Linked DNA regions of Homo sapiens: regions 2, 3 and 4 are each linked to region 1. The links are contacts of gene promoters, found by promoter capture Hi-C in human tissues and cell types (Jung and others, 2019). All regions are on one chromosome and are shown on one strand. The core of a region is centred on a gene start or on the middle of the fragment in contact, and the rest is flanking DNA. Distances in the headings are between cores, read along the strand shown.

The links. The method cuts DNA at HindIII sites, captures the fragments that hold promoters and counts their contacts. A contact is called where the count stands out against the background at its distance.
Region 2: a contact is called between a fragment that was not itself captured here and the fragment with the promoter of ZNF91 in region 1, in 2 of the 25 tissues and cell types used here (aorta and mesenchymal stem cells).
Region 3: a fragment that was not itself captured here is called in contact with the fragment with the promoter of ZNF91 in region 1 in 2 of the 25 tissues and cell types used here (adrenal gland and spleen).
Region 4: a contact is called between a fragment that was not itself captured here and the fragment with the promoter of ZNF91 in region 1, in 3 of the 25 tissues and cell types used here (aorta, dorsolateral prefrontal cortex and thymus).

Annotation. Positions count from the first base shown.
Region 1 is chr19:23,393,383-23,397,064 of GRCh38, reverse strand. It overlaps ZNF91 (zinc finger protein 91), which reads left to right and starts at 1,594. Exons shown (of 4, transcript NM_003430.4): 1 at 1,594-1,740. The coding sequence starts at 1,711. RefSeq lists an enhancer at 1,324-2,192. The HindIII fragment of the contact is 10,945 bases long and covers 1-3,682 here.
Region 2 is chr19:24,351,835-24,355,516 of GRCh38, reverse strand. No RefSeq gene overlaps it. Among named protein-coding and RNA genes, the nearest start is that of LINC03085, 210 kb to the right of the region's middle. The HindIII fragment of the contact is 3,256 bases long and covers 485-3,682 here.
Region 3 is chr19:24,150,920-24,154,601 of GRCh38, reverse strand. No RefSeq gene overlaps it. Among named protein-coding and RNA genes, the nearest start is that of LINC03085, 6.3 kb to the right of the region's middle. The HindIII fragment of the contact is 4,330 bases long and covers 1-3,682 here.
Region 4 is chr19:24,101,261-24,104,942 of GRCh38, reverse strand. The region is part of intron 1 of ZNF254 (zinc finger protein 254); the gene reads right to left. Among named protein-coding and RNA genes, the nearest start is that of ZNF254, 16 kb to the right of the region's middle. The HindIII fragment of the contact is 3,167 bases long and covers 178-3,344 here.

The sequences.
Region 1 (3,682 bases), core at 345-2,844:
CATTTTGAGCTTAGGAGATCGAGACCAGCCTGAGCAACATGGCAAATTCCAGTCACTACTTCAAATAAGGAAATAAACCGGGCATGATCGCGCACGCCTGTAATCCCAGCTACTCCAGAAGCTGAGGCTGGAGAATCGCTTGAATCTGGGAGGTGGAGGTTGCAGTGAGCTGAAATCATGCCACTGCACTTCAGCCTGGGTGACAGAACAAGCTTCTCTCTTGGAAATTAAAAGAAAATAGAGAGAGTATAAACAAAAGCAAAATATGCTTTTGATGAAGAAAGTTAGAAACATTTGTCTGCTTTGAAATTACTTAAAGGTTCCTTCAAATTGAAAAAGTAAAAATAATGTAGATTAAAATGAAATATAAAAAGTTAAACAATGGACCGGCATCATGGCTTACCCATGTAATCCCACTACTTTGGGAGGCTAAGGCAGGTGGATCACCTGAGGCCAGGAGTTCGAGACCAGCCTGGCCAACATGGTGAAACCGCATCTCTACTAAAAATACAAAAAATTAGTCAGGTGTGGTGGTGCACCTGTCATCCCAGCTACTCCAGAGGCTGAGGGAGGAGAATCCCTTGGACCTGAAAGGCAGAGGTTGCAGTGAGCCGAGATCGTGCCGCTGGACTTCAGCCTGGGCCACAGAGCAAGACTCAGTCTCAAAAAAAAAAAATTAAAAAATTATAAGAGATCATAAAATATGTATAAAAATCTAGAGAGGTCAAAAAAATTTTAATGTATTTTTATTTTTATTTTTTGCTGGGGTGCAGTGGCATGATCTCAACTCACTACAACCTCCGCCTCCCGGGTTCAGGCGATTCTCCTGCCTCAGCCTCCGGAGTAGCTGGGATTACAGACGTGTGCCACCATGCTCAGCTAATTTTTATATTTTATTTTTCATTTTTTTGAAATGGAATTTCACTCTTATTGTTCAGTCTGGAATGTATTGGCGCGATCTAGGCTTACTGCAACCTTGGCCTCCCGGGTTCTAGCAATTCTCCTGCCTCAGCCTCCCGAGTAGTTGGGATTACAGGCACGCACCACCATGCTCAATAATTTTGTATTTTTAGTAGAGATGGGGTTTCACCATGTTAGCCAGACTGGTCTCGGACTCCTGACCTCAGGAGATCCACCTGCCTCGGCCTCCCAAAGTGTTGGGATTACAGGTGTGAGCCACGGCGCCCGGCTGAGAGACTTACAATGTTTTATCAAATTAGCTTTATTATTGATAATACACAATAAAGTAAAAGTTGATTTTCTCTGGAACAAAAATTTTATGTATTATTAATATACATCAAATATTTTTGTTCACATTTTGAATACATTGAAAGAGAGCAAAGAAGAGAGAGGATTTTCCCATGCTCTGAGGTGGGCCTGGCTGAGCTGAGGAAGCCCTGCCTGAAAAGGCTGCAGCCTACGCTGTCACTCTTTCTTCATTCAGCCCAGTGTCTGATCACATCTTCTGTCACTCAGGGCCTGAGAAGGCGGGGCCTTAAACGTTATCTAATCAGGGACGCTGGGCTGGGAACTGTCCAATCAGGCACAAAGCTGGAGCGGACAGGGCGGCTTCCGGGATGTGGCTGGGCCTTTGTCTCTCGCTGCCGCCGGAGTTTCCAGGTCTCGACTTCACTGCTCTGTGTCCTCTGCTCCAGGAGGCCCAGCCTGTGTGGCCCTGTGACCTGCAGGTATTGGAGAGCCACAGCTAAGATGCCAGGAACCCCTGGAAGCCTAGAAATGGTGAGACTGCCAGGTGCGACGTCCCGAGAGAGGGAACGGGGCTCGTTGAAACCGGTGGGATGCGGCTGTGGCGAGCCTCAGGCCTTCCTTCAGTCAGCTCCACAATCCGTGCCCGGGTTCTCCTTGCCCAGCTCGGCCTCAGTCCCCTTCAGCGATAAGATGGCGGCTGCGTTGACAGGCGGGCTCCGGGCGTCCTGTCTCTTCCCTGCCCAGTGACTGTGTCCTGGCCTGGAGCCCTCTCTGGGCAGCTCTGCTCCCGCAGCGCCGCGTCTCTCCCAGATTGTGCAGGGATCACGGGAGGGTCGTCAGGGGAGAATCCTGACTGGAGGTGCTGGCTCATGAATAGGAAGCACTTTAGTCCGTGGGGTTCCCAGGGCCTCTTTTTTTCTATTAAAAATTTATGGGCGTCACCGCGAAAAGATTAAATAATTTAATCAAAGAGTGATTCAAACATTGTAGAGCACCCAGCTATGGTTTGTAATTTGTGGTCTATGAAAGGCCTTGAAGGAGATATTTTTATAAGGTTCATGGTAAAGAAAACCAAATTCAGTAATTTGCTAGGTACAGTTATGTAGGTTTTGTTTTGTTTTGTTTTTTGAAAAGGAGTTTTGCTCTCTCGCGCGGGCTGGAGTGCAGTGGCGTGATCTCGGCTCACCGCAACCTCTGCCTTCCGGGTTCAAGCGATTCTCCTGCCTCAGCCCTAGTAGCTGGGATTACAGGCGCCTGCCACCACACCAGGCCAATTTTTTTATTTTTCGGAGAGACGGGGTTTCACCTTGTTGGCCAGGCTGGTCTGGAACTCCTGACCTTAGGTGATCCACCCACCTTGGCCTCCGAAAGTGCTGGAATTACAGGCGTGAACCACCGCACCTGGCCTAGTTTCTTAATTTTTACAATCTAGGTGGAAATATCCTTCTTATGTAATCAGAGCTTAATTGGCAGTTTATAGTTGCTTAAGCCTAAATTTTGCTTCTGCCAATGTAGTAATTTACCAAAAAATGCTCTTGAGTTTAGATTTTTATTTTTAGAAGTAGAAATCCGAGGACTAGAGCCACCTCAATCTAATTGCCTGCCACTTAATTTTTCTCACACTCAAAAGGGGACGATTTTTCCCTGAATTTTTTACATGTGTCTCAAGCAGGGCCTCAAGTCCACCCCTCATCCCCTGTTCCTCCAGCCTAACTCTGGCTTGCAGTAAAATACTAAATTTCCAGTTTCGTCTGACATTCCCAAATGCCAATTTCCCCTCCCTAATTCACTTTATCAACTATTTGTCCTGTAGTGTACATTTTGATACCGATTTTAATCATTTTTATTTTTAATTTTTGAGACAGAGCCTTGCTCTGTCACCCAGGCTGGAGTGCAGTGACGCACTAGGCTCACTACAACCTCCGCCTACTGGGCTCAAATGATTCTCCTCTCTCAGTCTCCCAAGTAGCTGGACTTACAGGTGCCCACGACCACGTCTGGCTAATTTTTGTATTTTTAGTACAGACAGGGTTTCACTATGTTGGCCAGGCTGGTCTCGAACTCCTGGCCTCAGCTGGTCTGCCCACTTCGGCCTCCCAAAGAGCTGGGATTACAGACGTGAGCCACCGCATCTGGCCAATTAATTTTTTTTTTGACAAAGCATTTGATGGCACATTTAAAAAGATTTGTTTTTTTTGGTAAATACTCCCTGTGAGAAGAAAGCAAAGAATAATCTCCTGACACTGTATGGTAAAATATCTCTGTGCGTTTTTTTCGTCTATTTTCCCTAGACGCAGCTATCTTACCAGAATGTTTTTGGGTCAGGTTTTCCTTTTGGAAACTGTATAGGGTGATGTGTCTTCAGTCACCCTTCAGTTTTTTCTTGGACCTAGATTTCAGTACTGTATGGGGATAAACCAAGATACCCACCATGGCTATGTGTGCTAGAGTGTCTAGTGAATATCAGCTTCTG
Region 2 (3,682 bases), core at 863-3,362, 960 kb before region 1:
AAGTTTAGCTCTGTGAGTTGAATGAACTCATCACAAAGCAGTTTCTCAGAATGTTTCTTTCAAGTTTTTAATCTGAAGATATTTCCTTTTTCAACATAGGCCTCAATGTGCTCCCAAATATCCCTTCGCAGATTCTACCAAAACAGTATTTCCAAACTGCTAAATCAAAAGAAGGGTTTTACTGTGTGAGATGAATGCAAAATTCACAAACCTGTTTCTGAGAAAGCTTCTTTCTAGTTTTTGTCTGAAATTATTTCCTTTTTCACCATAGTCCTCAATGTACTCCTAAATATCCCTTGGCAGAGTCAACAAAAACTGTGTTTCCAAACTGCTCAATCAAAATAAAAGTTTAACTCTGTGAGATGAAAGCACACATCACAAAAAAGCTTCTCAGAAAGCTTCTTTCTAGTTTACATCTGAGGATGTTTCCTTTTTCACCATAGACCCCAATGCTCCCCCAAGTATCCCTTTGCAGATTCTACAAAAACAGTTTTTCCAAACTGCTCTATCAAAAGAAAGGTTTTACTCTGTGAGATGAATGCACACATCGAAAAGCAGTTTCTTGGAAAGCTTCTTTCTAGCTTTTATTTGAAGATATTTCCTTTTTCACCAAAGGTCTCAATGGGCTCCGAAATATCCCTTCACAGATTCTACAAAAACAGTGTTTCCAAACTGTTCAATTAAAGAATGATTTAACTCTGTTGAATGAATGCACACATCACAATGCTATTTCTAAGAAATCTTTCTCATTTTTTTCTGAAGATATTTCCTTTTTCACCATAGCCCTCAATGTGTTCCTAAATATATCTTCACAGATTCTGCAAAAACAGTGTTGCCAAACTGCTCATTCAATACAAAGGTTTAATTCTCTTAGAAGAATGCACACATCAAAAAGCAGTTTCTCAGAAAGTTTCTTTCTAGTTTTCATCTGAAGATATCTGCTTTCCCAACTTAGGCCTCAAAAAGCTCATAAATATCCCTTTGCAGATTCTAGAAGAACAGAGTTTCCAAACTGCTCAATGAAAAGAAACGTTTACCTCTGTGAGATGAATGCACACATCACAAAGCAGTTTCTCAGAAAGCTTCTCTCTAGTTTATATGTGAAGGTATTTCCTTTTTCACCATAGACCTCAATTCATTCCCAAATATCCCTCCATAGATTCTACAAAAACTCCGTTTCCAAACTCCTCAATCAAAAAAAGGTTTAAGTCTGTGAGATGAATGCACTCTTCACAAAGCAGTTTCTCATAAATCTTCTTTCTAGTTTTCATCTGAAGCTATTTCCTTTCTCACCACAGGCCTCAATGCATTCCCAAATATCCCTTTGCAGATTCTATAAAAACAGTGTTTCCAAACTGCTTGATCAAAAGAAAGGTTTAACTCTGTGAGATGAATGCACTCATCCCAAAGCTGTTTCTCAGAAAGTTTCTTTCTAGTTTTTATCTGAAGATATTCCTTTTTCACCATACCCCTAAAAGCACTCCAAAATATTGCATTGCAGATTCTACAAAAACAGTGTTTCCAAACTGCCCAATCAAAAAAAAAAGTTTAACTCTGTGAGATGAATGCACACACCACAAAGCAGTTTCTCAGAATGCTTCTTTCTAGATTTTATCTGAAGATATTTCCTCTCTCAACATATGCCTCAATATGCTCCCAAATATCCCTTCTCAGATTCTACCGAAACATTATTTCCAAACTGCTCAATCAAAACAAAATTTTAACTCTGTGACATGGATGCACACATCACAAACCAGTTTCTAATAAAGCTTCTTTCTAGTTTTCATCTGAAGTTATTTCCTTTTTCACCATAGGCCTCAATGTGCTCCTAAATATCCCTTTACAGATTCTGCAAAAACTTTGTTTCCAAACTGCTCAATCAAAAGAAAGGTTTAACCTTGTGAGATGAATGCAGTCATCACAAAGCAGTTTCTCAGAAAGCTTCTTTCTAGTTTATATCTGAAGATGTTTCGTTTTTCACCATAGGCCTCAATGTGCTACCAAATATCCCTTCTCAGTTTCTACAAAAATACTGTTGCCAAACTTCAATCAAAAGAAAGGTGTACTTCTGTGAGATGAATGCACTCATCAAAAGCAGTTTCTCAGAAAGCTTCTTTCTAGTTTTGATCTGAAGATATTTCCTTTTTCACGATAGGCCTCAATGTATTCCCAAATATCCCTTCACATGTTCTACAAAAACAGTGTTACCAGAGTGCTCAATCAAAAAAAAAGCTTTCACTCTGTAAGAAGAATTCTCACATTGCAAGGTGGTTTCTGAGAAAGTTTCTTTCTAGTATTTATCTGAAGATATTTCCTTTTTCACCATAGGCCTCAATGCACTCCCAAATATCCCTTCATTGATTGCACGCAAACAGTGTTTCCAGACTGCTCAATCAAAATAAACGTTTAAATCTGTGAGAAGAATGCACAAATCACAAGGCAGTTTCTGAGAAGGCTTCTTCCTAGTATTTATCTCAAGATATTTCCTTTTTCACCAAATGCCTCAATGGGTTCCCAAAGATCCAATTGCAGATTCTACACATAAAGTGTTTCCAAACTGCTGAATCAAAAGAAAGGTTTAACTCTGTGGGATGAATGCACACATCACAATGCTATTTCTCATAAATCTTTCTCATTTTTTTCTGAGGATATTTCCTTTACTACCCTAGGCCTCAATGCGTTCCTAAACATACCTTCACAGATTCTGAAAAAACAGTGTTACCAAACTGCTCATTCAATAGAAAGATGTACTTCTGTTAGAAGAATGTACACATCAAAAAGAAGTTTCTCAGAAAGCTTCTTTCTAGTTTTCATCTGAAGATATCTCCTTTTCCAACTTAGGCCTCAACACGTTCCAACTATTCCTTTGCAGACTCTAGAAAAACCACGTTTCCAAATTGCTCAATCAAAAGTAAGGTTTAGTTCTGTGAGATGAATGCACTCATCACAAAGTTGTTTCTCAGAAAGCTTCTTTCAAGTTTTCATCTGAAGATATTTCCTTTTTCACCATAGGCCTCAATGTGCTCCCAAATATCCCTTCACAGATTCTATAAAAACAGTGTTTCCAAACTGTTCAAATGAAAGAAAGGTTTAATCCTGTGAGATGAATGCAATCATCACAAAGCTGTTTCTCAGAAAGCTTCTTTCAAGTTTTTATCTGAAGATGTTTCCTTTTTCACCATAGGCCTAAAAGCGCTCCAAAATATCGCTTTCCAGATTCTACAAAAACAGTGTTTCCAAACTGCTCAATCAAAATAAAAGTTTACCTCTGTGAGATGAATGCACACATCACAAAGCTGTTTCCCGGAAAGCTTCCTTCTAGTTTTTACCTGAACATATTTCGTTTTTCACCATAGGCCTAAAAGCACTCCCAAATATCTCTTCTCAGATTCTACAAAAACACTGTTCCCAAACTGCTCAATAAAATGAAGAGTTTAACTCTGTAAGATGAATGCACACATCACAAAGCAGTTTCTCAGGAAGATTTTTTCTAGTTCTTCTCTGAAGCTATTTCCTTTTTCACCAGAGACATCAATGTGCTCCCAAATATCTCCCCGCAGATTCTAACAAAAGAGTGTTTCCAAACTGCTCAATCAAAAGAAAGGTTTAACTCTGTGAGATGAATGCACACATCACAAGGCAGTTACCCAGAAAGCTTCTTTCTAGTTTTTATCTGAAGATA
Region 3 (3,682 bases), core at 337-2,836, 760 kb before region 1:
AGAGCGAGACTCTATCTCAAAAATAAATAAATAAATAAATAAATAAATAAATAAATAAATAAATAATGAGATGCCATTTTTTCACATACCAAAATGGAAAATATTTTTTAAAACAGCATATTCCATTAAACTATTCATAAATAGTTAGTGTAGGGTAACAAGACCTTTCCTAACACTGTTACTGGAAGTATAATTTGATGTCATATTCATATATGGCAGTTTTTGCACTGTGCATCAGTGGTCTTTAAAATGTGCTATATTTTGCCATGCGTGGTGTCTCCCGCCTGCAATCCCAGCACTTTGGGAGGTCAAGTCAGGTGGATTACAAGGTCAGGAGATCAAGACCATCCTGGCTAACACGATGAAACCCTGTCTCTACTAAAAATAGAAAACATTAGCCGGACGTGGCGGCACACGCCTGTACTCCCAGCTACTCAGGAGGCCGAGACAGTAGAATCGCTTGAACCAGGGAGGTGGAGGTTGCAGTAAGCTGAGATCACGTCACTGCACTCCAGCCTGGGTGACAGAGTGAGACTCCGTCTCAAAAAAAAAAAGTGCTATATTTATTAATAAAGCAATTTTAACTAATAAATTAATGAGTTTTAACATACTGAAGTGGCATCACCTGTGTGGGGTAAAGACCCGAGGTTCGTCATCTAATGCCAAGGAAATCAGTGCATGGACACACAAGAAGATGGTTTAGGAGCAGTGGTTTAATAGGCAAAAGAAAGAGAAAGGAGAATAGTCTTCTCTTCTGAGAAAGAGCAGTGCCTCTCAGTGGGACTTCCAGCCTGCAGTGAAGCGCAATGGATTTTACACACTGGCTTCAGGAGCAGGTGGCTGGTTTACATAGGGCCCAAACATTGGTTGGATCAGGTTTGAAAGTTTACACAGCTGAGGCGGGCAGCTGAGAAGGCCAAATAGGAAGAGCTCTGGACTACAGCTCCCAGCATGAGTGACGCAGAAGACAGGTGATTTCTGCATTTCCATCTGAGGTACTGAGTTCACCTCACTAGAGAGTGCCAGACAGTGGGCGCAGGACAGTGGGTTCAGCACACCATGTGCGAGCTGAAGCAGGGTGAGGCATTGCCTCACTCAGGAAGCACAAGGGGTCAGGGACTTCCCTTTCCAAGTCAAAGAAAGGGGTGACAGATGGCACCTGGAAAGTCGGGTCACTCCCACTCTAATACTGTGCTTTTCCAACAGGCTTAAAAATGTCACACCAGCAGATTATATCCTGCACCTGGCTCGGAGGGTCCTACGCCCATGGAGCCTCGCTGATTGCTAGCACAGCAGTCTGAGATCAAACTGCAAGGTGGCAGCGAGGCTGGGGGAGGGGCGCCTGCCATTGCCCAGGCTTGCTTAGGTAAACAAAGCAGATGGGAAGCTCCAACTGGGTGGAGCCCACCAAAGCTCAAGGAGGCCTGCCTGCCTCTGTAGACTCCACCTCTAGGGGCAGGGCACAGACAAACAAAAAGACAGCAGTAACTTCTGCAGACTTAAATATCCCTGTCTGACAGCTTTGAAGAGAGCAGTGGTTCTCCCAGCACACAGCTGGAGATCTGAGAACAGGCAGACTGCCTCCTCAAGTGGGTTCCTGACCCCTGAACCCCAAGCAGCCTAACTGGGAGGCACCCCCCAGTAGGGGCAGACTGACACCTCACACAGCCGGGTACTCCTCTGAGACAAAATTTCCAGAAGAACGATCAGACAGTAGCATTCGCGGTTCACAAAAATCAGCTGTTCTGCAGCCATCGCTGCTGATACCCAGGCAAAAAGGGTCTGGAGTGAACCTCTAGAAAACTCCAACAGATCTGCAGCTGAGGGTCCTGCCTGTTAGAAGGAAAACTAACAAGCAGAAAGGACATACACACCAAAAACCCATATGTACAACACCATCATCAAAGACCAAAAGAAGATAAAACCACAAAGATGCAGAAAAAACAGAGCAGAAAAACTGGAAACTCTAAAAAGCAGAGGGCCTCTCCTCCTCCAAAGGAACGCAGTTCCTCACCAGCAATGAAACAAAGCTGGACAGAGAATGACTTTCAGGAGTTGAGAGAAGAAGGCTTCAGATGATCAAACTACTCTCAGCTACAGGAGGAAATTCAAACCAAAGGCAAAGAAGTTAAAAACTTTGAAAAAAATTTAGACGAATGTACAACTAGAATAACCAATACAGAGAACTGCTTAAAGGAGCTGATGCAGCTGAAAGCCAAGGCTCCAGAACTACGTGAAGAATGCAGAAGCCTCAGGAACCAATGCAATCAACTGGAAGAAAGGGTATCAGTGATGGAAGATGAAATGAATGAAATGAAGCGAGAAGGGAAGTTTAGAGAAAAAAGAATAAAAAGAAATGAAAAAAGCCTCCAAGAAATATGGGACTATGTGAAAAGGCCAAATCTACGTCTGATTGGTGTACCTGAAAGTGACGGGGAGAATGGAACCAAGTTGGAAAACACTCTGCAGGATATTATCCAGGAGAACTTCCCCAATCAAGTAAGGCAGGCCAACATTCAGATTCAGGAAATACAGAGAACGCCACAAAGATACTCCTCAAAAAGAGCAACTCCAAGACACATAATTGTCAGATTCACCAAAATTGAAATGAAGGAAAAAATGTTAAGGACAGCCAGAGAGAAAGGTCAGATTAGCCACAAAGGGAAGCCCATCAGACTAACAGCGGACCTGTCAGCAGAAACTCTACAAGCCAGAAGAGAGTGGGAGCCAATATTCAACATTCTTAAAGAAAAGAATTTTCAACCCAGAATTTCATATCCACCCAAACTAAGCTTCATAAGTGAAGGAGAAATAAAACACTTTACAGACAAGCAAATGCTGAGAGATTTTGTCACCACCAGGCCTGCCCTAAAAGAGCTCCTGAAGGAAGCACTAAACATGGAAAGGAAAAACCGGTATCAGCCACTGCAAAATCACACCAAATTGTAAAGACTGTCGAAGCTACAAAGACACTGCATCAACTAACGAGCAAAATAACCAGCTAACATCATAATGACAGGATCAAATTCACACATAAAAATATTAATTTTAAATGTAAACGGACTAAATGCTCCAATTAAAAGACAGAGACTGGCAAATTGGATAAAGAGTCAAGACCCATCAGTGTGCTGTATTCAGGAAACCCATCTCATGTGCAGAGACACACATAGGCTCAAAATAAAAGGATGGAGGAAGATCTACCAAGCAAATGGAAAACAAAAAAAGGCAGGGGTTGCAATCCTAGTCTCTGATAAAACAGACTTTAAACCAACAAAGAACAAAAGAGACAAAGAAGGCCATTACATAATGTTAAAGGGATCAATTCAACAAGAAGAGCTAACTATCCTAAATATATATGCACCCAATACAGGAGCACCCAGACTCATAAAACAAGTCCAGAGAGACCTACAAAGAGACTTTGACTCCCACACTATAATAATGGGAGACGTTAACACCCCATTGTCAACATTAGACAGATCAACGAGACAGAAAGTTAACAAGGATACCCAGGAATTGAACTCAGCTCTGCACCAAGTGGATCTAATAGACATCTACGGAACTCTCCACCCCAAATCAACAGAATATACATTTTTTTCAGCACCACACCACACCTATCCCAAAATTGGCCACATAGTTGGAAGTAAAGCTCTCCTCAGCAAATGTAAAAGAACAGAAATTATAA
Region 4 (3,682 bases), core at 512-3,011, 710 kb before region 1:
TCTATAGCACCCTAATAAGGAGGTATCTCTTGATAATTTTTTCAGAGCTTTCTGGGTAATAAATGCCATCCTGTTTAAATGAGTATTTTCTTAATTGTGTAATGCATACAGATAATAAAGAACACAGATAGAACCTCAACATTACATATTCTATGTCTTTACTAAGAACCCCAGGTTTTCCCCACAGAAATATTGAGTATCCACCCCTCTCCATGTTCATCAGCCACAAGGAGAACATTTTTAATATTGCAGATCACAAATTCATGGTGAGAATCTTACATGGCATATAAAAAGCCATGATGTAGAGAAGATTCTTGTATATAGAAAAATTTTTCAGACACCCTCGACTATCATAAGCATTTTTAAAAGTAGTTAAGAAAAACTTATTAGGGAGAAAAAACACAGGTATAGAAGTGAAGATTTGCAAGTACTAAATGCAAGGCATTCCAGAAAGCAGAGTAGACACAGCTCTTGATCTGGGACACGTTTAGCTGAAAAAAAAAGTCACTTTTTCTCTCTCCTCCTCCTCTAGAATTCTTTCTCAGATGAGATATTCTGGACTAATTACACCTGCATCTTGACAATATGCCTTTAAAAATTTGAGCACATGTTCACCTGTTACCACCACACTCAAAGTCAGAAGGCTCAAGACACAAAAACTCTACCCATTTCTGTCCTTTACAACAAAAAAGATTCAGGAACAATGAGCTGCTCCACAGAGAGAAAAATATAAGTTTCTCTTCTTTTTGTCCCCAGGCGCCCTCCCCTGTTACAAACACCAGGAATTTCTGCTACAGTAATAGAAATATCGAATCCCAGCACTTTGGGAGGCCAAGGCAGGTGGATCACGAAGTCTGGAGTTCAACAGCAGCCTGGCCAACATGGTGAAACCCCATCTCTACTAAAAATACAAAAGTTGGCTGGGTGTGGTGTCTCACGCCTGTGATCCCAACACTTTGGGAGGCCAAGGCAGGTGGATCACCTGAAGTCAGGAGTTCAAGATCAGCCTGGCCAACAGAGTGAAACCCCACCTCTACCTAACATACAAAACTTAGCTGGGAATGGTGGCAGGCACCTGTAATCGCAGCTACTCAGGAGGCTGAGGCAGGAGAATCACTTGAACCCGGGAGGCAGAGGTTGCAGTGAGCCGAGATTGTGCCATTGACTCCAGCCTGGATGACAGAGCGAGACTCCATCTCAAAAAAAAAAAGAAAGAAAAAGAAAAGGAAAGAAATATTGGCCACACTGTCCTATCCTTACCAAACTCAAACAGAACAGATTCCTAGAACATTCTTTAGTGCAAAAGTGGAACTTAACTCAATGAATGTATCTTGAACTCCTCATATTTGATGCTGGCACCTGAGAGTCACATGAGGCACTTAATTAAAACAAATAGACGCTTTCACCCAGAACAGAAACTGTGAAAAGGGCACAAGTAAAGAGAGTTCTGCATATTGGCCATGTGATTCTAATTAGAAGCCTGATCTTATAACCACTTACCTAAGCATTATCACTCAAGCTTTAATGAGCTTATGAATCGCTTTGTAAAATTGGCCCCACTCTATGTAATGCGATTCTGCAGGTTTGGAAATGGTCCATAAATGGGTGTTCTAAACAAGTCTTCTGTCAATGCTGGTGTCACTCTCTCTGGGCTCATTGTTAGCATTAGTTAGAAAAATGAGGTACAGCACAGAGCCCCTTACACTCAGCACTTTTGTAAAAACACAAATACTTCTGATGCAAATGAAGACAACCATTCTCTATCTTAAAGTATCATATTATTTTCTGGCTCTTTAAAGTTTACAGAGAAAACAGAAAGCAGCAATTTTCTGAGTAAGTCTGCATTTGGAAAACAACATGTGCACATGTATTAATGCAATGTTTATTAAGCAGGTACTATGTGATCAACAGGATGTTACAGAGCACTGTGATAGCACATTATTTGATTCTAATAATACCCTGTGAGTTGATACTAAGTGTCCAATAAATCCAAGGATTTAGAATAAAGACCCAGCATTTTTATTTCCTCTTCTGTTTATCATTGAGTTTTTTAAAATGCATGGAATAAAATCTAAATACAGACAGATGAGAAGGACACAGATAGAGTTTAATGAAATGTAGATGAATTTTTATTGTATTTATATTTGCTATTTTGTGACTTGTGAATCAACTACTATATCTGCAGGAACAGAAAACAAGTTGCTAAATGGAATGTCTCTGTAAACACTGGTTTTAATATAAAATTATTAAATTAAGACCCTATAATACATGTTATTTTTCCATTTATCTGCTATTGGGTTTCAGAAAAGTGTGAGCACCAACTCTAAAAAGGCAACAGGATTCATCACCCAAAACTCTGATCTCTTCTAGTTAGTTCTGTGAGGCAAAACTCCAGGGTAGGGCAAGACTTAAATAAGGCCTTCAAAAAGGGTGAATCTAAACAGGGCTGAAGCAGGGTGTAGAGTTGATGTAAAATTCTGTTCTTTACACCACTGGGGAGTATTTTTTTTTTATGTTTCTTTTTTTAAGCTTACCTAAAAGAAAAAAAAAAAACTTAAATCTCAGAGTTTGTGTAATTTTAATCTTTTTTAGCCCCATTGCCCTCTAATTTCATATCACATACTAATAAGCAATTTAAACAAATCCCTTAAGGTTTTCTAGAATAATTTAGAAGATAAATAAGTTTACTTAGCAAGGCAAAAAAAAAAAAAAACAAATTTTGTTTATTAATATATGTTCAGGTATAGACATCTGAAGTCACAATATAAAGAAAATGGCCCAAATAAAGCCCATATTTTTGCACACATCTATTTATTGTACCCACCATATGATGCATAATTAAATCATTTATCCAGTTGCTAGTCTAGACTAAAAGTTCCTGCATGGTAGGGACCATGACTGCGTCATCTATTTTTCTAATGACTATATGAAATAGAAGCAATTAGTTTATCTCTTTGAGTCTGCAGACCTCCTCCTTGTTTTTACCCAAGTACCAGGGAACTGGAGAAACTCTCATCTGGGTACCAACCGAAGACAGCTCTTGCATGAGGGGAGGAACAATCACAGGATGACTCATTTCATTTACACTAAGACAGAAGCAAAATTGCCCACTCTTGTCAGCCTGACACAATTCTGTTCTGGAGATTCTCAAATGTCTCAAAGACACCTAGGTGATTGTGAGAGCATTTCCAGTGACCCTGGACTGATGGTTCAATAGCAAGCCAGCAGGAGAGACTCAGGCTGATTCTAAATAGAAAATGGAAGTACCCTGGTGGAGCTGCAGAACCTGGATCACCTGTCCTGATTAGCTAGCTTTTTGGTATGTAGAAGTGCAAGAATACTCTAATATCATATTTTCCAGGTAAGTATACTTGTGCTCAGAGCTCTGGCTACTTTGTGGCCTTGATCTCTCACTCCTAAGATGCTTCTTTACACTTAAGAGATTCTGCCATCAGATTCTATTTACACCTGGAGCCTCTCACATAACTGTAGCAGGTGAAAACACAAGATGTGAAAAGGTCAAAGAGCCACACTCTCAAAGGAGGGATCTAAAATGTCTATGTTGACATCTCACAATGCAGAAAATGCCTCCTATTGGTTTTCTGTACATTCTCAATCTAAAGTAGGACCCTGTTTTATAAATTCCAGGCAGAGGCCAGACCTTATTTGCAGATTCTAGATA